Regions from separate parts of the Homo sapiens genome. Here region 2 is linked to region 1. The links are contacts of gene promoters, found by promoter capture Hi-C in human tissues and cell types (Jung and others, 2019). All regions are on one chromosome and are shown on one strand. Each heading gives the region's core, a stretch centred on a gene start or on the middle of the fragment in contact. The rest is flanking DNA. Distances are from core to core; before and after follow the strand shown. Region 1 holds the start of FAM20A (FAM20A golgi associated secretory pathway pseudokinase). Region 2 overlaps LINC01482 (long intergenic non-protein coding RNA 1482).

Region 1 (5,151 bases), core at 542-3,041:
ACACAGTTACTGCAGTTACATCACCACCATTCAATGCCTGACTTCTTCATTCGCTTGCCATGACATCTAATTAAACACATTAGAAGTTGCAACGTCTCTCAGAAATTGGAAATCAGTTAAAATTTAATTCCAGATAAAAAGGAGGAGGTTCTAGAACCCCTCAAAATGCCCACCATCATACCCAGAGGAGTGGAGTAGCTGGGAATAGTACCGTCTTGGGCTTTTTCACTTGGACTGGGCACTCAGGCCACAATGTTATGCCCCTGAAAGCAGGTTCCTTCCTGCTATCTTCCTTTTCCATCCTTTTCTATTTTTGTCCTAGCGATGAGCAGTCTCTAACCAAGCCTAGTGTACTACAGGAACTAATAAGTAATCATAATGATAGCAAACACATATTTCACACTTATTTAGGATGAGTTAGGAGCTCTTCTAAGTAATTTATACATAGTCAAGTGCCACATAACATTTTAGTCAATGCAACAGTGGTCCCATAAGATTACAATACTGTATTTTTACTGTATGTTTCCTATGTTTAGACACACAAGTACTCACCACTGTGTTACAACTCCCTACAGCATTCAGTAGTCGCATGCTGTACAGGTTTGTACCTAGGATCAACAGGCTATGCCATGTAGCCTCCGTGTGTAGTAGGCTGAACCATCTAGGTTTGTGTAAGTACACCCTGATGTTCACACACACAGGAAAATTGCCTAAGGATGCATTTCTCAGACGTGACACATAATTGTACTTCAATTCATTTAAGTCTCATAATAACCTTAGGAGGTAGGTTCCATCATTATCTTCATTTACATTTGAGGAGACTGCAAAGTCCCGAAGAAATCTTACACTGAACCACGGGGAAAAGAACTCTGGTCTGAACCCACAAGTCAAAGTATGTCTGAGGGTTCTCAATTCCAGCAAGGGAAGGGAGGGGGTTAAAGAGTAGAACTAACTTACATGGGAAGCTTTGCTGCCTGGGCAAGCAGCTTCTGGTGGATTTCCTGAAATTCAGCAGGGTGGGGCCGCCTCTCCAATCAGACTTCACTTTACTATACTATGGGGTCATTAAATAGAGGAGCCAGGAGTTCAGGACTCCCTCCCTCTTCTTCAAAAGGAAAACTGGGTGTGGGGAGGGTACATTACCTCACAGAATATTGGAGAAAGCCTAAATGTGTCCTCCAGTGATTCATTTGGGTGGACTACTTTCACACCAAGCTAAACTCAAAAGTTCGGAGTGGGGTCATCAGGGCCCCTCCCTCCCTGAGTGCAAGAAACATTTCCTCTTTTTAAAGTACAGGCAGAGTTGGAATCAAACTCCTTCCAAACAGGAAATCAGCAAGATTCTAGGTAAAACTGATACCTTACTTTTAAAGGTCAAGCTCTTTCCTTCACCAAGAGCGTGTTTCCTGAGCACCTACTATGTGCCAGGCATGTGGTAGGTAGTTGTTATGAATCTTGATGTGCCCTGCGCTCTGCAGGGGGGCGGAGGTGGAAGGGAACACAAAGAAAGAACAGATACCAACACTGCCACCCCCGCCTCCCCCCACCCCCCCCCACACACTCATTTGGCAAAGCTTACAGGAAAAAAAGGGTTTTAGGGGGCTTGTGGTGGTTTTTTTTTCCCTAAAAATAATAGAAATGGTAAAAAGAGGCTTCGGACCCCTCGCGTGAGTCCCTTAAAGTGACTGGATTGAGACCTGGGCAGGGAAAGTGGGAGGCCCGAGCGAGGGGGAGGGCGCAGGCAGTGGGTGGGTGACAAGGTGCAAGGGCAGCGCCGGCTTCGGATCGGGAGTTGGCCGTCAGCTGCGCCAGAGGCAGGTGCCAGCGGAGAGTGGGTGGGGGTGCCGGCGCCAGGCCAGGCTCGGGGAGGCCCCGCGCTACCTCTGCCTCTAGGAGTCCAGGCGCACAGACAAGCTCCCCGGAGCCGCTCCTGCTTCGCCAACTCCCCACTCGCGCCGCCCGTGCCAGCCGCCGGCACTGGCGTCTCCGCCGCCCGCAGGAGGAGTCGCGGGAGCACTAGCAGCCGCCGCCGAGCGACAGCATCCTCAGGAGAGACGCCCCGGGCTTTGCAGCCGGCGGCCTCCGTCCGCCCTCCGCGGTCGCCCCCCGCCCCGTCGCCCGTCCGCCCGCGGTGGCAGCCGGCGCCGGCGCCCCGGGGCCCTTCACCTGCCGCGAGCGTCCGGGCGGGCGGGCGCACGGGAGAAAAGGCGCAAGAAGCGGGCACCCCGGGAACCCCATTCCCTCGGCTCACTCGGCGCGGAGAAGCGACGCCCGCTGACTCCGAGAGCCCCGGTGCTCCGTGCACCTGGTCCCCAAGTTGAGGAGCGACACCCCTCCACAGGGGACTAGCCCGCGCGGGGAGCATTCCGGTCTCACTGACCCCGGCCCACCCGCGGGACTCCAGGCACCTCTTCTGCCCGCACCCCGCGACCCCTCCCGGGACCCCGGAGACAGCCGGCCTGCCCCCGGCGTCCCCCTTGGCCAGCACGCCATGCCGGGGCTGCGCCGGGACCGCCTACTGACTCTGCTGCTGCTGGGCGCGCTGCTCTCCGCCGACCTCTACTTCCACCTCTGGCCCCAAGTACAGCGCCAGCTGCGGCCTCGGGAGCGCCCGCGGGGGTGCCCGTGCACCGGCCGCGCCTCCTCCCTGGCGCGGGACTCGGCCGCAGCTGCCTCGGACCCCGGCACGATCGTGCACAACTTTTCCCGAACCGAGCCCCGGACTGAACCGGCTGGCGGCAGCCACAGCGGGTCGAGCTCCAAGTTGCAGGCCCTCTTCGCCCACCCGCTGTACAACGTCCCGGAGGAGCCGCCTCTCCTGGGAGCCGAGGACTCGCTCCTGGCCAGCCAGGAGGCGCTGCGGTATTACCGGAGGAAGGTGGCCCGCTGGAACAGGTGAGGACCCCGCCCGGGACGCGGGAGAGCGGGCGCTCTGGCCGGGGCCTCCCCGCGCCCCAGTCTCGAGTTTCCTGACGCCCCCGGCCCAGGGCTGCAGCGGCTCCACCCACGGCTCCAGCCCTGGCGCTGGGCTTAGAGTGTGTTCCCCACCCGAACCCCACCAGCTGTTGCAGACCTCACAGTCCAGTCCCGGAGTCAGATAGTACGAGGAAAAAGTTTCTATTGCAGCCGCACAGCGAAGAAACGCTCTCAGCCCCTTCCCCTTGAGCGCCTGGGTCGTCGTTGAGCCCCACTCCTGCTCCCTCGTCCACTCCCGCTCCCTCGTCCGCTCCCAAACCCCACTCTCTGTCCTGATGTGGAGGAAAGCTGCCGCTGGACTTCGGGTTTCCAGAATGAGGCCCCAAACAGGGTGACTCCAGAGCTAGTTGAAATTCAGCACTTAACTGTGCTCTTTGGGTAAACCTGGGCGCCTTCCAGAAAGCATGTTTCTCCCCAAAACCCAGTTCTTTCCCTTTCCTTATTCCTCTGCCCAGTTTCAGAGATCACAAGGGGGTCATCTGAGGCAGGAAGTAAATGGTCAGTTCTCTGCCGCAGCCACCCCATTGTTCACATTTAAAACGCGGCTTGGGCCCATCCAGCAAGTATTAGAACTTGAAGGCACTTTTATCGTCTTGTATGATCCTGGTGATTTGGACTGACTTGGATCTGCGGCTTGATGCTTCCACAGACGAGAAAAAAATCTTTCAGGGAATTTTTTAAACCCAAAGCAAAATACAGAGGAAAAAATATCAAATATATTTAGGATAAAATTAAGAATCTTTCTGGAAAAGGATGGGGGTGTTAGGGAAGGCAGCACGCTCATTACTGAGATCCCTTGCTAGTGGCAGGAAGCCTTCGTATGAGTTAAGGACTCTGTTTTGAAGTACAGAACTTGTCTAAATACCACTCACATGCAGAGTTCACTATCGCACCACACCCATCTCTTTACTTAATACAAGAGATTTCAAAGTAAGATGTCATCGGTGGTTTTATGGTCCCTCCAGAGGATGAGCAGACCATAAATCTCTCTTGAAACTCAGAGCTGGGCCAATTTAACTGTTTGCTCATTATTTTGTAATGCTGAGATTGAAGGGAGAAAAAAAAACCTTCAGAAATTTTTGCAAAGGAATAAGTTGAGTTGTTGGCTGAATCACTGTGGTGAATTTCAGTAGTAACTCTACGGCTCACATTTTATGTTAGAAAGAAAGTGATTCTCAATTCCACGTTAACTGTGTGCAGTAATAAAAGGCAGTTTGAGATTGCTTCTCAGACACTGTCATTTTCAATATTATCTTTATTTCGTCAATAACATGGAAGTCTGGCTTAGTGAACCAGGAAATTTTGCCCTTAGAAAAAGTATCTATATGTCTACTATGGATCTGAGAATGAGAGACTTTGGACAAAGTCACTTGCTTTTGTAAATGTGATCAGCATTCATTTAGTCACATTTCTGTGGTCTTAAACTTCCCGGTGTTACTTTGGACCCGAAGCAAAGTCCAGGGGAATATTATGGCAGAAAAGCAAAAATCTTTCTCACCAAACTGTTCTACAATCAGTTTTAAGCTTGATTTCTACACCATTATGTGTCAACAAAGACAAAAAAAACTCGCAAAAACACACATACTTTCTGACCAGAAATGATCTTGGTCATTTAACAGAAGATCAAGTGGGGGCTGGTGACCTTACTATATTCAGAGATCACAGAGTAGTTTTGTGTGGTTGCTCAAATGTGACATTTTCCCAAGTAAGGTTTGTGGGCCACAACAGGAGGACCCGCTGCACTTATAAATGTTAAAACTGGACCTCAGAGGCAGAGAACACTCTCCTTCCACCCAAACTGGATAGTAAATGTTAACATGAACATATTAATAAGCAGATGTGTTGTTACTTATATCAGGGTTAAAAATGAAACACAAGGCCGGGCAGGGTGGCTCACACCTGTAATCGCAACATTTTGGGAGGCAGAGGCAGAGGGAGGATCACTTGAGCCCAGGAGTTCAAGATGAGCTTGGGCAACATAGTAAGATGTCGTCTCAAAAAACAAACAAAAAAAATAGCCAGTGGTGACACATACCTGTAGTCCTAGTCACTTGAGGGACTGAGACAGAAGGATTGCTTGAGCCCAGAAGGTTGAGGCTGCAGTGAGCCATGACTGTGCCACTGCACTCCAGCTTAGGTGACAGTGAAACCTTGCCTCAGAAAAAAAAAAAAAAA
Region 2 (5,276 bases), core at 2,251-4,750, 44 kb before region 1:
GAAACTTACAATCATGGAAGAAGGGGAAGCAAGGCATGTCTTACATGGTGGCAAGAGAGAGAGAAAAAGAAGGGGGAAGTGCTAGACACTTATCAAACAACCAGATCTCATGAGAACTCACTCACTATCATGAGGACAGCATGGGGGAAACCACACACATGTTCCAGTCACCTCCAACCAGGTCCCTCCCTAGACATGTGGGGATTACAATTCAAGATGAGATTTGGGTGGGGACACAGAGCCAAACCGTATCACTTTGGTAATTAATTTTCAACACTTTTTTTTCTTTTTCAATATATGTACTTAAGGCATTTCCCACTAAGTACTTGTTTAACAGGAAGTTTTGACATCTAATATTTTTAATATCATTCAATTCAAATTTTTTTTGTTTCCATTATAATTGACTCTGTGCCTCACGGTTTATTTAGAAGTGTATTTCTTAATATTTTTATTGATTTTTTCTTTTTAAATCAATTTAATTTAGGTTCAAATTTACATACAATATATTATATGCATTTATACATAATACAGTTTTGTGAGTTTTGAAAAACATAAACATTAGTGTAACCATGACCACAATTAATATATTGAACATACATTTTCACTCCAAAAAAAGTTCTCCAACTCTACCTTTAACCACAACCACTAAACTGCTTTCTGTCATTGCAAACTAGTTTTGTTTGCTGTACAATTTTGTATAGATAGAATCACATATTATTTACTCTACCCTCTTTCATCATCGTAATGATTTTGAGACATAGCCATGATGTTGCATGTATCAGTAGCTTTTTGCTTTTTATTGCTGAAGAAGTGTTCCATTGAATGAATATATCACGATTTGTTTATCCATTCACTGTTTGATGAATATCTGAATTGTCTCCAGCTTTTTGTTATTACAAATAAAACTACAATAAACATTTATATATAATTCTTTTGTAGACATGTGTTTTCATTTCTTACATACAACATAGTAATGAAATTTCTGAATCATACAGTGAATGTGTTAACTTTACAAGAAATCGCCCAATTTTTTCTAAAGTGGTTCTACAACTTTAGAACCACTTTGCAGTTCTACAGTTCTCAGTAGTAATAAATGAGGTTCTAGTTTTTCTTTTCTTTTTTTTTTTGAGATGGAGTTTTGCTCTTGTTGCCCAGGCTGGAGTGCAATGGTGCAATCTCGGCTCACTGCAACCTCTGCCTCTTGGGTTCAAGTGATTCTCCTGCCTCAGCCTCTGGTTGGGGTTCAATCAGGCTGGTGGGAAAAATATTAGAGATAGTGTAGAGATAGACACAAATCTTCTTGGAAGGCCGAGAAGTTTGCATAACTTCTATAATAGATCTGGCTGAAGGTGGCCTGGTCCCTTTATCTTTAGTTAAACAAAATTAAAGTAGTAACAAAGGAAGGCAGAGTAGTTTACCTAGCTAGCTTGTTTACTCATATGATCTTAAGACTAACCTTTATTGTACCACAGGTACTTAAGTGCTTTTTACTCAGGAAGTCCACAATGTCAATTACCCTTTAATGGTGTTAGCTCAAGCCTTTATTAATTAATCTTACCAAATAAATGTGAGTCTCGCTAGCTGATCAGGGCCAAGTCACGACTGTTTACAGGACTCAGCAGGGAGTCTGTAAGCGGCTGAGACACACTCAGCTGGACAGGCAAAGCAGAATATCTGTGTGTCAGTGTACGTTATTCATCCGTCACCGGGTCAGGGGTCTGCAACGGACAGACCCCTCCCCGCAGCTGGCGCCCCCATAAGAGGTGCACTGCCACAGTTGGTGCCCCGTGTGGGAAACTGTGTGATGAGCACTGCCACAGCCTCAAGTACCTGGGATTACAGGCATGTGCCACCATGCTGGGCCAGTTTTTTGTACTTAGTAGAGACAGGGTTTCACCATGTTGGTCAGGCTGGTCTCCAACTGCTGACCTCAGGTGATCCATACACAGGCTGGTCTCCAACTGCTGACCTCAGGTGATCCATACACCTCAGCCTCCCAAAGTGCTGGGATTACAGGTGTGAGCCAGCACTCTCAGCCTGGTTATAGTTTTTCTGCATCTTCACTAACACAGGCTACTGCTAACCTTTTACATTTTGACCATCTTAGTGGTTGTAATTTGTATTTATCTTATGACTAATAATGTTCGGCATCATTCCATGTGCTTCTTGGCCATTAAGATATCTTTTGTGAAGTATGCATTCAAATCTTTTGCTCATTTTTTATTGAGTTTTTGTTATCCTCTTACCATTCAGCTGCAAGAGTTACTTATACATTCTGGACACAAATCATTTGTCATATATGAGTATTGCAAATATTTCATCTGAGTCTGTGGCTTGCTTCTTTGATTCTTAACAGTGTCTTTCGAAAAGCAAAGTTTTAAATTCAATGAAGTCCAATTATTATGACTAATTTTTATGATTAGTGCCTTTTTGTGATCTGTGTAAGAAATCTTTTCTTCTCCAAAGGCCATGAAGACATGAAGACTTTTCTCCTCTGTTTTTTTTTCTAATTTTTTTATAATGTTAGCTTTTTCATTTAGATCTAAAATCTATTTTGAGTTCATTCTTATGTACAACGTACAGGTTGAAGTTCACTTTTTGCATATAGATGCCTAGTTACTCCAGGACCATTTGTTGTTACTGATTTTCAACTTTATTAAATGTGTTTAGAAATCAAACACTATATAATTTGCATCATGAAATCTGGTGAGACTTCCTTTACGTTTCAGCATATAGCCAATTTTTATTGTGCTTGAAATTAGTAAGTATTCTCCAGTTGTTGGCTGCAATATTCTCTACATGTCCTTAGGTAAAATTTGTTGATTGCATTATTCAAGTTTTGTGTATTATTGCTGTTTTATATCTACTTATTTTATCAGCCACTGACAAGTGTGATAAAAATCTGTCAGTATGACTGTGACTCTATTCATTTCTGCCTTTTTGATTCCATATTACTGGATCTATACAAATTGAGAATTTTTATACCTTCTTGGTAAATTGATCCTTCTGGCATTATGAAATTCCTCTTTATCTCTACCAGTCTTTTTGCATTAAAAACAGCATTTTTAATCTTAACATAGCTACATCAAATTTCTTTTGGTTAGAGTTTTCATAGTGTTATCTTTTTTTTTCACCTTTTTATTCTAATCTTTCCACATTCTTGTGTTCTTGATATGTCTCTTGTAACCAACAAGGGTCTTCTTTCATTGCAATTTGAGCCTTTTAATTTGACCATATAGTCCATTTGCATTTGACATAAATACTGATATGTCTAGGAAGCTGTATTAGTTTGCTAGGGCTGCCACAACAAAATACCACAGACCTGACAGCTTAAACAATACATACTTGTTTTCTCATAGTTCTGGAGGCTAGAAGTCCAAATCAAGGCATCAGCTGGGCTGGCTTCTTCTGAGGCATCTCTCCCTGACTTGTAAATGGCTATCTTTTCCCTCTGTCTGCACATGATCTCTGCTCTGTGTCTCTGTATCCTAATATTCTCTTCTTATAGAGAGACCAGTCATTTTGGATCACATTTACCTTAATGATCACATTTAACCTTGATTACTTCTATAAAGGCACTATTTCCAAATAACGGTCACATTCTTAGGTATTGGAGGTTAGAATTTCAATATATGAATTTGGGGAAGAGAAGGGGACATAATTCAGTAGTAAGTATGTCATCAAGCAGATAAAATACCATCTATCATGTGTTTTCTATTTGTTCCATCTGTTCTTTGTTCCTTTTTTGTCTTTTCTCATCTTGTTTCGAATTGATTTCTTTATTATTACATCTTTTCTCTATTAGCATGAAAGTTGTACGTGCATTAACCATTCTTTTAGTGCTACCTGGAAATTATAACATGCATCCTTGGCTTATCAAAGCAGAACATTAATTGGTGTCTTTACCTACTCTCCAGACAAAGACCTTGGAACCCTTTAACTCCATTCAGCCCCATTCTTATTTATGTTTAAATTAGCCTACATTTTAAATCTAAATATATTTTAAATCCCACGATGTGTTATTATTATTGCTTATATAATCAATATGAATTTAAATTCATTCACATCATTGCCTAAAAACAAAAGTTCCTACTTTATTTATCTTTCTTTTGTTGTTCATGAAGTGAAACAACACTTCATTTGTCTCTTATGCTATCCTTGTGCAACATATAAAAACAGATATGTTCATCCTCTGGTGACGTAAGTGGAAGAACGACTAAAATTCCCGACTCTATAGAGTCCTAAGAGAGGAACCTACAGAAGTCAGAGGAAACTTCAATATCAAGAAGTTTGGAAAGAGGTAAATATTATAATACCCCATAAAGACAAAACTTCTGCCAAACTGGATGACATCGGTTCATTTCTGTGATGTTTATTTTGTTTTGTTGAAGAGGAAACTAGATGGGAAAAAAGCAAAGCTGAGAGAAAGGATGAGAGAAACATGCAAGGATTGAGAGAGTGTCTAGAGATGGAAAGAGGAGCTCCATGGAGACCTCCCAAGAGAGTGACCTGGGTGGCATAATAGCAACCAACATGAGTTGGAACTCAGAAACTGGTAGATGTTTGTCATTCCCAACCATAGGTCCTGGATTAAAGGAGCCCAGAAAATCATAGCAGAAGCCCAGATATCACACAAGTGACAGCAGAGCAGGCATCCTCCATGTTTATGAACTTCCTAGTAATACGATTCAGCTTAGAGCGCTGTAAATATTGTCAGTCCCTGCTCTTGGGCTTGTGAAAACCTGTCTGGAGCTTTGCAACTTGTGACTATTCAGACTCAATTAATGGAAATGAGCTGTGTTTTTAGGGTGAAAATATCCTTTCCTTTGCCAGCTTCCGAACCATGTGTCTTGCATTTTGAGACGAATCCAGTTGCGATGTTGACAGGTGCAGACTAACTACTCTTTCCACAACAAGCATTTGGAAACATTTTCCTGGTGGTCATGCTGCAAGTCTTGTGTATTAAAACTAGGGCATCAGGTTTGCTAAGTCAGCACACTCAACATAAGATATGTTAGAGACATAACTTCTGAGGTGAAGGGAATGATGGCAAATTTACATCAGAAGCTTTGTCTGCTGGTCCTTAAGATCAGTTGACTAATGGTCTTTGCCTCTGGGGTTTTTTCCATGCTCAGAAATAAGGACAAAGAAAAGACCTACTTAAAGATAACTAAAATGAGGAAATTTTCAGAAAATTGACTCTTTTTATATGATTGTTATTATAAGTTAACATTCATTCTGCTTGCCATGAGCCAGGCACTCATTATACTTAGCTC

What was found. The method cuts DNA at HindIII sites, captures the fragments that hold promoters and counts their contacts. A contact is called where the count stands out against the background at its distance.
Region 2: a contact is called between a fragment that was not itself captured here and the fragment with the promoter of FAM20A in region 1, in 2 of the 25 tissues and cell types used here (neural progenitor cells and thymus).

The regions. Positions count from the first base shown.
Region 1 is chr17:68,598,007-68,603,157 of GRCh38, reverse strand. FAM20A (FAM20A golgi associated secretory pathway pseudokinase) reads left to right here and starts at 1,791. Exons shown (of 11, transcript NM_017565.4): 1 at 1,791-2,895. The coding sequence starts at 2,492. The HindIII fragment of the contact is 4,098 bases long and covers 1,271-5,151 here.
Region 2 is chr17:68,643,628-68,648,903 of GRCh38, reverse strand. All of the region lies in intron 2 of LINC01482 (long intergenic non-protein coding RNA 1482), which reads right to left. Among named protein-coding and RNA genes, the nearest start is that of LINC01482, 18 kb to the right of the region's middle. The HindIII fragment of the contact is 6,803 bases long and covers 99-5,276 here.